Linked DNA regions of Homo sapiens: all the other regions are linked to region 1. Evidence: promoter capture Hi-C in 16 types of primary human blood cells and fetal thymus (Javierre and others, 2016). All regions are on one chromosome and are shown on one strand. The core of a region is centred on a gene start or on the middle of the fragment in contact, and the rest is flanking DNA. Distances in the headings are between cores, read along the strand shown.

Region 1 (2,692 bases), core at 85-2,584:
CGTTCATGCTATCCTCCCACCTCAGCCTCCCAAAGTGCTTGGATTACAGGTATGAGCCACCTTGCCCCGCCTTCAACCTGCTTTTAAATACTCCCCTGTCCTGTGTCTGTACTCTGCTTTCACCCAATCATGACACACAATAACAATTATCACCACCACCAAACCCTTCATCTATTTGTGTCCCTTTCCAATTTCCCTACTTACCCTGTTCCTGGGTTGAACTGAATCACCTTACCCTTTTGCCACATTGGTTCAAACAGCAAAAATAATGGTGGCCATGAGAATAATTATGCTCCCCTTCTACTCATTACCCCTCCTGTCCCCAAGACTGTATCCAAGGGTCCCAAGGTAGGGAGAATGTACGGCTATAGAAGGCTGGATTTAAGGCTCAGATTGAAGGATCCTGGCTGGGGAAAAGGGGTTCAGGCACTCACTGGCTTGCTTGGCCTTCTGGGTGTAGGTGGTAGTAAGATCTTCTGCCACTGGGTGGGGAACAGGCCCCACCATAGGGATGAGATGAGGACCAGGTCGGAGGGGGCCATGGGGTAACAGCAGAGCCTCAGCTGGGGGTGGCTGAAGGGCTGCCCCATCCTCCCAAGACGGGGAGCTCACACGGCTGTCACCCTGGCTGGGAGGGCCAGGGATAGTAGGTGCTGGCTCTGCAGGGCTGTCAGACAGGTAGACCTCATCAGGTGGGGCACCCGGAGGGGTGGGCCTTGTGGGGCCTCGGCGGCGAGGTCGACGGGGCTTCTCCTGGGTGGCAGGGCCATCAGCATCACTGTCAGTCTCTCCGTAGTAAGCCTCACTATCAGGAGGTGAACGAAGGCTCCCAGGCTGAAGAGGCTGAGGAACTGGAGCACCAGGGGGCTCAGGACTTAGTGGAGATAAGGGTGACAGCACCTGAAGCTCATGGGGAGATGGAGATTGCACAGGACCCTCGTCTGCTAACCTGGATAGGAAAGATGACAGAGCTTGAGAGATGGGCTGGGTACTGACAGCTAGAGAGATCTGGAAGGGATGGAGGGAAGAGGTAAGGGGGAGGGAAGAGGTAAGGGAGAGAGAAGGCTGTCATACAGTTGGAATGGGTGGGCCGGGAAGAGTGGAGATATGAAGACAAACTGGGAGGCAAATGTGCTTGAAGGGCTGTGAGTGGAAATAGGCTTAGAGGAAGATGTAATGAGGAGGAAACAGGCCAGGGGTTGAAGTAGGCTCATCAGTCAAATACCCACTGACATCCCCATCCCTTAATTGCAGATACATTCAAGCCCTCTGGGAGGCAGACACAAACCATCTGCACTCCAGCAGAAACGCACGAGCAGAAATAGGTACCTGTTAGTTGCTAAAGCCAGGCCAGTGAGACATAGAGCTGAGACAGGCAATGGGAGCCCTGGATTAGGGGAAGAGAAGAGGAGAGAGGTCCATACCGCTGCACAGTGAGGACAAGCTGATTTCCTGAGGCATCGATGAGGCTCATGGCACTGGCATGGGAGAGGTTGGTGCAAGAGACCCCATTGATTGCCAAGAGCTGGTCCCTCTCTCGGAGTCCTGCTCTGCCAGCCTGGCTCCGTCTTCGAATCTGAGATGTTGAAGGAGACACTGTAGGTAAGAGGGGGCTCCAAAGGGAATAGAATGAAAGGAAAAGATGGGAAGGACCCACAGGAGGGGATTTTACTTTGCAGGGTAAGAAGGGTGGGGAGATGCATGGAAGTGGCTGCAGTTGAAGTGGCCTGTCTAGAGGGAAGAAAGTATACAGACTGGAGAAAGAAATACATCATATGGTGGGAAATAGGGTAACCATTGAATGAAAGAGGCTTGGGAAGAACTGCATGGGGTAGGTAACTAGAAATGGTGGTTATTGGCTGGGTGCAGTGGCTCACGCCTGTAAGCCCAGTGCTTTGGGAGGCCTAGGTGGGTGGATCACTTGAGATCAGGAGTTTGAGACCAGCCTGGCCAATGGGTGAAACGCTGTCTCTACTAAAAGTACAAAAATCAGCTGGCCGTGGTGGTGTGCGCCTGTAATCCCAGATACTTGGGAGGCTGAGGCAGGAGAATTGCTTGAACCCAGGAAGCAGAGGTTGCAGTGAGCCATCATGTCACTGCACTCCAGCCTGGGCAACAGAGTAAGACTCTGTCGCAAAAAAAAAGAAAAGAAAAAAAACGGAAAGAAATGGTGATTATCTCCACAAGCTTTTTCTCCAAGGGCAATATCTATATTGGCTGGTAATTCTCTACTAGGCCTTGTAACCCCAGGCGCCATTACACAGTCAAGATTTTAGAACAGTACTCCAGGTTGGAGGGAGTCCAGCGGTATTCTGGGAGATTGTGATTATTTGGGTATATGTGTGCCATGTATACACACAAATGTATATATGCCAAAGTAATAATAGTAGTAGTGGCTACCATTTATTGAGTTCTTACTAAGTGTTGGGCACTGTGCTACATGTATTATTGCATTTAATCCTTAGAATGGTTCCATGAAGTAGGTACAGGTACTATTATTACCCACATTTTACAGTTCGGAAAACTAAGCCTGTAGGGTGAAACCAAAAGGATAATGACTTCATCTGTGAGGCCAGATCTTGCCATAACCCTCCTAGCACCTAAAAAAGTCTTGCCTAGTGAGAGAAAGGATCTGACCTAGGGAAAGAGCACTGAAGGCATGGGCAGGGCAGGGTGAGGCAGGGTAGGGCTG
Region 2 (2,692 bases), core at 91-2,590, 380 kb before region 1:
AGTTTCAGGTGCAAGGTTGGAAATCCACAGGAACTCACTCTCATGTGTGCATCATTCAGTGATTTCTCCACACACAGTGGGCTGTCAGATACATTTATAGTTTTTTTTCTTTACATTGTGCATCCTTTTCTTGAGGTAAAAATCTGATTTGCCTGTTGAAATACTATTGTCCAGAAAGCTTTCTTTCCCCTAGTATCAGTTATTAACAGCCCAATCCCGAGCAATCAATGCAGTATTCAGAAACTCTAGGGTGCACTCTGGGCTCTGGGCACGTGGAAATTGTTGCTGCTTCCTAAAACTGTGAGTTTGCTTTGTTGCTTTGTAAAACATTCCAAAAGGCTCTCCCTTCCCCAGTAAAGTAGCTCTTTTTTTCCTTTCTTTTTTCTTTTCTTTTCTCTTTTCTTTCCTCTCCTCTCCTCTCTCCTCTCCCCTCCCCTCCCCAGCCACCCTTTTCTTTTCTCTTTTCTTTTCCTTTTCTTTTCCTTCCCTTCCCTTCCCCTCCCCTCCCCTCCCCCTCCCCTCCCCTCCCCTTCCCTTCTCTTCGACAGAGTCTCGCTGTACTGCCCAGGCTGGAGTGCAATGGCATGATTTCAGCTCACTGCAACCTCCGCCTCCCAGGTTTAATCGATTCTCTTGCCTCAGCCTCCCAAGTAGCTAGAATTACAGGTGCCCACCACCACACCCAGCTAATTTTTGTATTTTTAGTACAGACGGGGTTTCACCACATTGGCCAGACTGGTCTCAAACTCCTGGCCTCAAGTGATCTGCCCACCTTGGCCTCCCAAAGTGCTGGGATTACAGGCATGAACCACCTGTGTCCAGCCTACTTTTTCTGCTTTAAAATAATTAAATAATGGGTTTCTAGGCCAAAGACAAGAGATGGCCTTTCACCCACACCCATACTTTGGCCCACACTTTGAAGTCTCTGAGACATTGATTCATTATTTAATCAACCTACATTTGCCAAGGATTTGCTCTGTGTCAGGCAGTATGCTAGATGCTGGGAGTAAAAAAATAAAATCCCGTAGTCCCAGGTACTCAGGAGGCTGACGCAGGAGGATCAACCGAGCCCCGGAGGCAGGGATTGCAATGAGCTGAGATTGAGCCACTGTACACCAGCCTGGGTGACAGAGCAAGATCCTGTCTCAAGTAAATAAATAAAATACAATATCTGCCCTCAAAGGGCTCACTGACAGATGTGTGAAAAACAAAACACAGGCCGGGTGCGGTGGCTCACGCCTGTAATCCCAGCACTTTGGGAGGCCGAGGTGGGAGGATCACCTGAGGACAGGAGTTTGAGACCAGCCTGGCCAACATGGCGAAATCCTGTGACTACTAAAAACACAAAAATTAGCTGGGTGTGGTGGCACATGCCTGTAATCCCAGCTATTCAGGAGGCTGAGGCAGGAGAATCACTTGAACCCAGGAGGCAGAGGTTGCAGTGAGCCAAGATGGCGCCACTGCACTCCAGCTTGGGTGACAGAGCTATAAGAAGATACCAATACTATACTGTTAAGTCGAAAAAAGGTTACAAAGCAGTAAATATTTACATTTTATACATTAAAATTGCTTTCATATATATGAAAAAAGACGGGAGGAAAGTACATTCAAATGTTAACAGTGGTTATCACCAACTTGTGGAGTTACGGATACTTTAATGTTTTCTTCATATTTTGTATCTATTTGTCTATTTATTTTTAGAGGTGAGGTTTTGCTCTGTCACCCAGCCTGGAGTGCAGTGGCACAATCATGGCTCACTGCAGCCTCTAACTTCTGTGTTCCCACCAAGCAATCCTCCCACCTTAGCCTTCCAAGTATCTGGGACTACAGGCACATGCCACCATGCCTGGTTAATTTTTAATGTTTTTGTAGAGATGGGGGTCTTGCTCTGTTGCCCAGGTTGGTTTCTCTCAAACTCCTAGGTTCAAGAGATCCTTCAGCCTCAGCCTCCCAAAGTGCTGGAATTACAGGTGTGAGCCACTGCTCCTGGCTTCTTCTAAAGTTTCTATAATGAACACATATTATCTTTATGGCTGAAAAACAGCAATGAGGGGCTAAGTGAGGTGGCTCACACCTGTAATCCCTGCACTTTGGGGTGGATCACTTGAGGTCAGGAGTTCAAAACCAGCCTGGTCAATATGGTGAAACCCCATCTCTACTAAAAATACAAAAATTAGCCTGGCATGGTGGTGGGCACCTGTAATCCCAGCTACTCAGGAGGCTGAGGCAGGAGGATCACTTGAACCCAGGAGGCAGAGGTTGCAGTGAGCTGAGGTGACACCACTGCACCACTGCACTCTAGCCTGGGAGACAGAGCGAGACTCCATCTCAAATAAATAAATAAATAAATAAATAAGTGAGTAAGCTATTCAAAGAAAGGGAGAGACATGGAGTCAATAATATGCCTGAAGAAATTAGGCAGGAACAAGAGGATGTTTGCCTCTTTGAAGACTGGAGGAAATGAGGGAAGGTTAAGTAAAGAGTTTTTAGGAGAAGCAGAGCAAAAGCTTCTGCCAGAAGTTACAGCAACTCCTCCTGCATATCAAAGGGTCACAGTGCTTAGTAAGTGTCAATCAATTTCTTTAATTGACTTGAATAGATTCTTCATCTCCCATATCACCTTTTTCTTACAGATAATATCACAAAGGAGTGTCTATACCAAATAACATGAATTTTTTTTATTATGTAGCTT
Region 3 (2,692 bases), core at 87-2,586, 350 kb before region 1:
CTCCTGCCTCAGCCTCCCTAGTAGCTGAGACTACAGGTGTGTGCCACCACACCCAGTAATACTTTAAATGTAAAATGCCCTTTTCTTCCCAGCTGAGAGACCACCAGCCAAAGATTAAACACTGTATGCTATATGCCATTGATCACAAATGGAACCAGCAATGAAAATACGTAAAGCTTCAAACAAGTTTTCACCCCTTCTGGAAGACATATTAAAGAGTCCATGCAATTAACAAGTGCATGCACTCAATATCTTATTACTTATCATTTCAACTTGGCTTTGGCACTTGCCTTCTGAGCTCCTCCTGTCCGACGGGTAAGAGGAGGCCTTGGAGGAATCATTTCCTTGACCCTGTATCAGGAAAGAAAAAAAATAAAAAAACAAAAAAAAATTTATTATCTACAGATGTATATTTTCTTTTATCTTATCCTCAAAGTGTCTGGGTGGGGGAGATCTGAGGTCTGTTCCCCCACTGCACTTGAGCACTGTGCTGTTCTCTCATGTAAAACCCTAGATGTGAACCACAGCAAAGTATATGGCTACGGACCATACAGAAGGGAGGTGAGGAAGCAGCTACTCAGGGAGTATCTAAGTTGTATTTTTGGTTAATTTGAGCCCTGGCTTTACCCTTACGTATTTAAAAACTTGTGGTATACAAGGGCTGTTTGACTGGGGTTTTGGAAAGAAATGGGTGTCAACATTTTAGAGGCACTCAGTAACATCTCTGAAAGCAGAATGATTTGGAAATCTGAGTGGAATAGGCAAGCAAAACCTCTTCTTTCCTCCCCGTCTACAATAAAAGTGTACTCTTGGCATAATTTATAGGGCTGCATTAAATTACAATAATGCTATCAAAACTTAATCCAAAATGTGAGTAAAAAACCACATTTTGTCAATGTCAAACTACTTATGTCAAAACCTCTACCTTCTATTTTCAGAAGCCCTTACAAGAACCTAGAAGGAATTAAGTTATAGCTCTTCTCCCTTTTAGTTTCAGGTTCTTGCTAAATATATTATACTACCTTGAAGTCCACAATCAAACTCACAAAATCTATTTTTCTTACTAGATCCTATGTAATGATATACCTCTGTTCATAATTACTAATTTTAATTCTATTTATTTAAATAGGTAATCTATTTATATTATTCAAAATTTAGAAGGTACGAAACTGTATAGCAAAATATCTCCTTCCAACCTTATTGCCCAGCCTCCTAGTTTCCTCTCCAGAGACAATGTTATTCATTCATTCAAAATAGATACTGAGAGGCCAGCCATGGTGGCTCATGCCTGTAATCCTAGCACTTCGAGAGGCCGAGGCGGGTGGATTGCCTGAGCTTAGGAGTTCGAGACCAGCCTGAGAAACATAGTGAAATCCTGTCTCTACTAAAATGAAAAAAATTAGCTGGGTGTAGTGGTGTGTGCCTATAGTTCCAGCTACTCAGGAGGCTGAGACATGAATTTCTTGAACCTGGGAGGCAGAGGTGCAGTGAGCTGAGATCGCACCACTGCATTCCAGCCTGGGCCACAGGGCAAGACTCTGTCTCCCAAAAAATAAAAAAATAAAAATAGATACTGAGTGCTTATTTTCCATCAGGTAGTTTTCTAGGTTTGGGAATAGAGCATTAAACAAAATAGACAAAAATTCTTACCCTCATGGAGCTTACATTCTAGTAGGGAAAGAAAGACAATAAATAAGATAAACAAACAAGATAAATATGCTAGTAATATGTCCCATAGAGAAAAATAATGCAGGAAGGCAGACAGACTCTATTGGGGGTTGAGGGTAGTGGAATGCAGGAGCATATTTCACCAGGAAGGCCTCGCTGAGATGTTAACGTTTGAGTAAAGACCTGAGGGAAGTGAGGAAGCAACTGACATAGTTTGGATATTTGTCCCCATCCAAATCTCATGTTGAATTATAATCCCCAGTGTTGGAAGTGGGGCCTGGTGGGAAGTGTCTGGGTCATGGAGGTGGATGCCTCATGGCTTGGTGCTGTCTTCATGATAGTGAGTAAGTGCTTGCAAGATCTGGTCATTTAAAAATGTGTGGCACCTCCCCCAACTCCCTCCCTGCTCTCTCTGTCTTTTGCTCCTGTTTTGACAATGAAATATTATTTGGTAATAAAGAAATTAAGTATTGATATATGCCACAATATGAATAAACCTTAACAACATTAGATTAAATGAAAGAAGCCAGTCACCACATATTGTATGATTCCAGAGTTGGCAAATCTATAGAGAAAAAAAGTAGATAAACGGCTGCTTAGACTTGGGGGTTCAGGGTGGAAGAGGTGGCATGATGGTTGAGAGGAAAAGGAGAATGACTGCTAATGTACATGGGATTTCAACTTTTGGGGTAATGATAGTATATATAAAGTTGACTATGGAATGGCTACACAATTCTGTGAGTATACTAAAAGCCACTGAATTGTACACTTTATTTTATTTTTATTTTTCTAAGTTCACATCGGACAGGTAATATGATGATGTCACAACAAAGCTTGAGGGAGGCACAGCTCATGTATGAGCATGAACACCCAATCATCACGCTTATGAACTACAAAGGGATCAGAACTGGATACTTTAAATGGGTGAACAAAATGAAAGAAAAGGTGATGGTGGTAGAGAAGTATATGGTATGTGAATAATATCTCGAAAAAGCTATCATTAGAAAATAAAAAAGAAGAAATT
Region 4 (2,692 bases), core at 140-2,639, 270 kb before region 1:
GCGTGAACCTGGGAGGCAGAGCTTGCAGTGAGCTGAGATCGCACCACTGCACTCCAGCCTGGGCGACAGAGCAAGACTCCGTCTCAAAAAAAAAAATAAATAAATAGAAATAAAAAAGAAGTAAATAAATTTAAAGTCTGTTACACTTACACATTTATTACACTCAAGCAGATCTATTTTATTCATTCTATCAATAAACATTTAATAAAATCTTATTCCACTCTACCAGGTACAAAAACAAGGGATATATGAAACAAAGAATTATTCAAACTGACAAAATGATAAACAGATATTTACTTAGTAAAAGGAACTGTTCTTGGTTCTATGAGGAAGTAGAAACCATTATCATCTTGTTCTTATTTGTTTTTTGTTGTTATTTTTTTTGAGACAGAGTCTCGCTCTGTGGCCCAGGCTGGAATGCAGTGGTGTGATCTCGGCTAACTGCAACCTCTGCCTCCTGGGTTCAAGCGCTTCTCCTTCCTCAGCCCCCTGAGTAGCTGGGACTACAGGCACATCCCACCACGCCAGGCTAATTTTTGTATTTTTAGTAGAGATGGGGTTTCACATGTTGGCCAGGCTGGTCTTGAATGCCTGACCCCAAGTGATACACCCGCCTTGGCCTCCCGAAGTGCTGGCATTACACACATGAACCACTGTGCCCAGCCGATATTGTTCTTATTTGGAAAGATACACATCTAAAAAAAAAATAATGTAAGGTAACCTGTACTCTAGCACTGGGTAAGTAGCATAGAAATAAGTAATAGAGAAAGTTGAAACAGAAAAAGTTCAAAGTCAGCTGGAGAGCTCAGAGAAAAATGTAAAAATTAGCATGCAAAGACGAAGGAGAAAGGTATTTCAGGTAAGAAGGAACACCACCAAGGAACAGAGAAGGGGTTCCCAGCCTTGACTCTTCATTACATTCATTGTGGAGCTTTAAAAAAAAAAAGAAAAACATTGATGTCCAGGACTAAGACTCAGAGATTCTGTGTATTTTTAAGTTTTAAAGGAAATTACGATGTTCAGTTAAGGTTGAGAATTACTCGTATAGAGCCAAGAATGAGCAAAGCTTGTTCAATGGAACAATAAGACAACCGGTTTTGCTACAGAGGAAGGTTTTCATAATAGATGAGTTAAAACAAAGTTGTAACTAAATCTTGGATTATTACACTGAATGCCAAGCTAAAGAATATGGACTTGATTCTGTTTGCTGGGAGGAACCACTGGAAACTTTTCATGCAAGAAAATGGCACTGATGTAGCAACAATATTCAGAATGGATGATGGTGACAAAGAAGCTATAGATGAAAACATTTAGGCTACTGGAATATTTAGTTAAGAGGTAATAAAGTCTTGGACTTGAATGGTAACAATGGAAATGAGAAGGAACAAAGTAGACAAAAGAAACATTTTAAAGGGCCATTTTATAGATTAGATCAATAAAAACTAGTAAATAACCAACTGCTAGGACAAAGCATACAGAATACTCCCTATGATAAAAGAAAAACATGGACTCAAAGATGACTATAGCAGGCTAGAAAAACAGTGTTTTACTAATTAGGAAGTTAAGAAAAGAGGTGGCTAGTGGTACGGAAATTAGATTGTTAGTTTTAATTCTAAAGCAATATATAAAAAAACTTGAGACAGCATTGTGCAGACTAGATAAAAAATTCATAACATGGAAAATATCTTTGTGAGAATAGTGAGTCTGATGTTGAAGCTTAAGGAGATCTAGGGTTTGTGTTGCATAATCAGTCACTGGGCTGGGCAGACAGGGAAAGGCAAAATAGAATAAGCAAGGTGGGACCAATCAATGGACCACTACCCCATTCTGAGAAATATAAACTAGATGCAGAGAACATTAGGATATTTTTAGGATTCCTATCTAAATGGCAAAGCAGGTCAGGCGTGGTGGCTCATGCCTGTAATCCCAGCACTTTGGGAGGCCAAGGCAGGCAGATCACATGAGGCCAAGAGTTTGAGACCACACTTGCTAACATGGCAAAATCCCGTCTCTACTAAAAGTACAAAAATTAGCTGGGTGTGGTGGCAGACACCTATAATTCCAGCTACTCGAGAGGCTGAGGCACGAAAATCGCTCTTGCCTGGAAAGTGGAGGCTGCAGTGAGCGGAGATCATGCCACTGCACTCCAGCCTTTTGAGACTCTGTCTCAAAAAAAAGTAAAAAAAAAAAAAAAAAAAGCAAAGCAGTGCTATCCATGTTTTCCCATTACATCTGAGGAACAATGGCATTTTTTAGCCATAGAATCTTGTTGGATTTAGAAACTGATCATCCATTCAACAAGTACTAAGTGGCTACTTGCCATTATATACTTGGTACTGTAATACAAAGATGACTATGACCATGGTTTGTCCTATGGGAGCTCAGTTTTTGGGGGTGGGCCGTGAGATTAGTAATAACAGAGGTTTTACAAAGTGCTATGGGACTACAGTATTAAGAAGCAGCTAAATTCTGTCCAGACTAATGAAAGAAACTTCAGAGTAGCTGATATTTAAGCCAAATCTTAAAGAAGTTTGCCATGAAAAAAAGAAAAGGTATTCAAGGCCAGGAGAATGGCATGTACACAACACAGAAGCATAAAAGATCATGGCGTGTACAGAGAATGGCAAGCATTTCCATATTATTTTTTTTTGAGACAGCGTCTTGTTCTGTCACCTAGGCTACAGTGCAGTAA

Evidence for each region. Contacts are between HindIII fragments. The CHiCAGO score rates a contact against its expected background, and 5 or more counts as called.
Region 2: a contact is called between a fragment that was not itself captured here and the fragment with the promoter of SYNPO2L-AS1 in region 1, in 4 of 17 cell types (endothelial precursors, erythroblasts, M2 macrophages and 1 more). The highest score is 8.1, in endothelial precursors.
Region 3: a fragment that was not itself captured here is called in contact with the fragment with the promoter of SYNPO2L-AS1 in region 1 in 2 of 17 cell types (endothelial precursors and erythroblasts); the score reaches 5.9 in endothelial precursors.
Region 4: a fragment that was not itself captured here is called in contact with the fragment with the promoter of SYNPO2L-AS1 in region 1 in 1 of 17 cell types (endothelial precursors); the score reaches 5.4 in endothelial precursors.

The regions. Positions count from the first base shown.
Region 1 is chr10:73,652,705-73,655,396 of GRCh38, forward strand. SYNPO2L-AS1 (SYNPO2L antisense RNA 1) reads left to right here and starts at 1,335. Exons shown (of 3, transcript NR_187519.1): 1 at 1,335-1,602. SYNPO2L (synaptopodin 2 like) reads right to left here. Exons shown (of 4, transcript NM_001114133.3): 2 at 1,425-1,576; 3 at 435-949. The HindIII fragment of the contact is 5,539 bases long and covers 1-2,185 here.
Region 2 is chr10:73,270,013-73,272,704 of GRCh38, forward strand. All of the region lies in intron 25 of CFAP70 (cilia and flagella associated protein 70), which reads right to left. The region is part of intron 2 of DNAJC9-AS1 (DNAJC9 and MRPS16 antisense RNA 1); the gene reads left to right. Among named protein-coding and RNA genes, the nearest start is that of MRPS16, 19 kb to the left of the region's middle. The HindIII fragment of the contact is 2,329 bases long and covers 177-2,505 here.
Region 3 is chr10:73,299,315-73,302,006 of GRCh38, forward strand. CFAP70 (cilia and flagella associated protein 70) reads right to left here. Exons shown (of 28, transcript NM_001367801.1): 14 at 291-351. It overlaps LOC124902577 (small nucleolar RNA U13), which reads right to left and starts at 2,570; the gene lies at 2,467-2,570. The HindIII fragment of the contact is 2,325 bases long and covers 175-2,499 here.
Region 4 is chr10:73,384,036-73,386,727 of GRCh38, forward strand. All of the region lies in intron 7 of ANXA7 (annexin A7), which reads right to left. Among named protein-coding and RNA genes, the nearest start is that of CFAP70, 27 kb to the left of the region's middle. The HindIII fragment of the contact is 650 bases long and covers 1,065-1,714 here.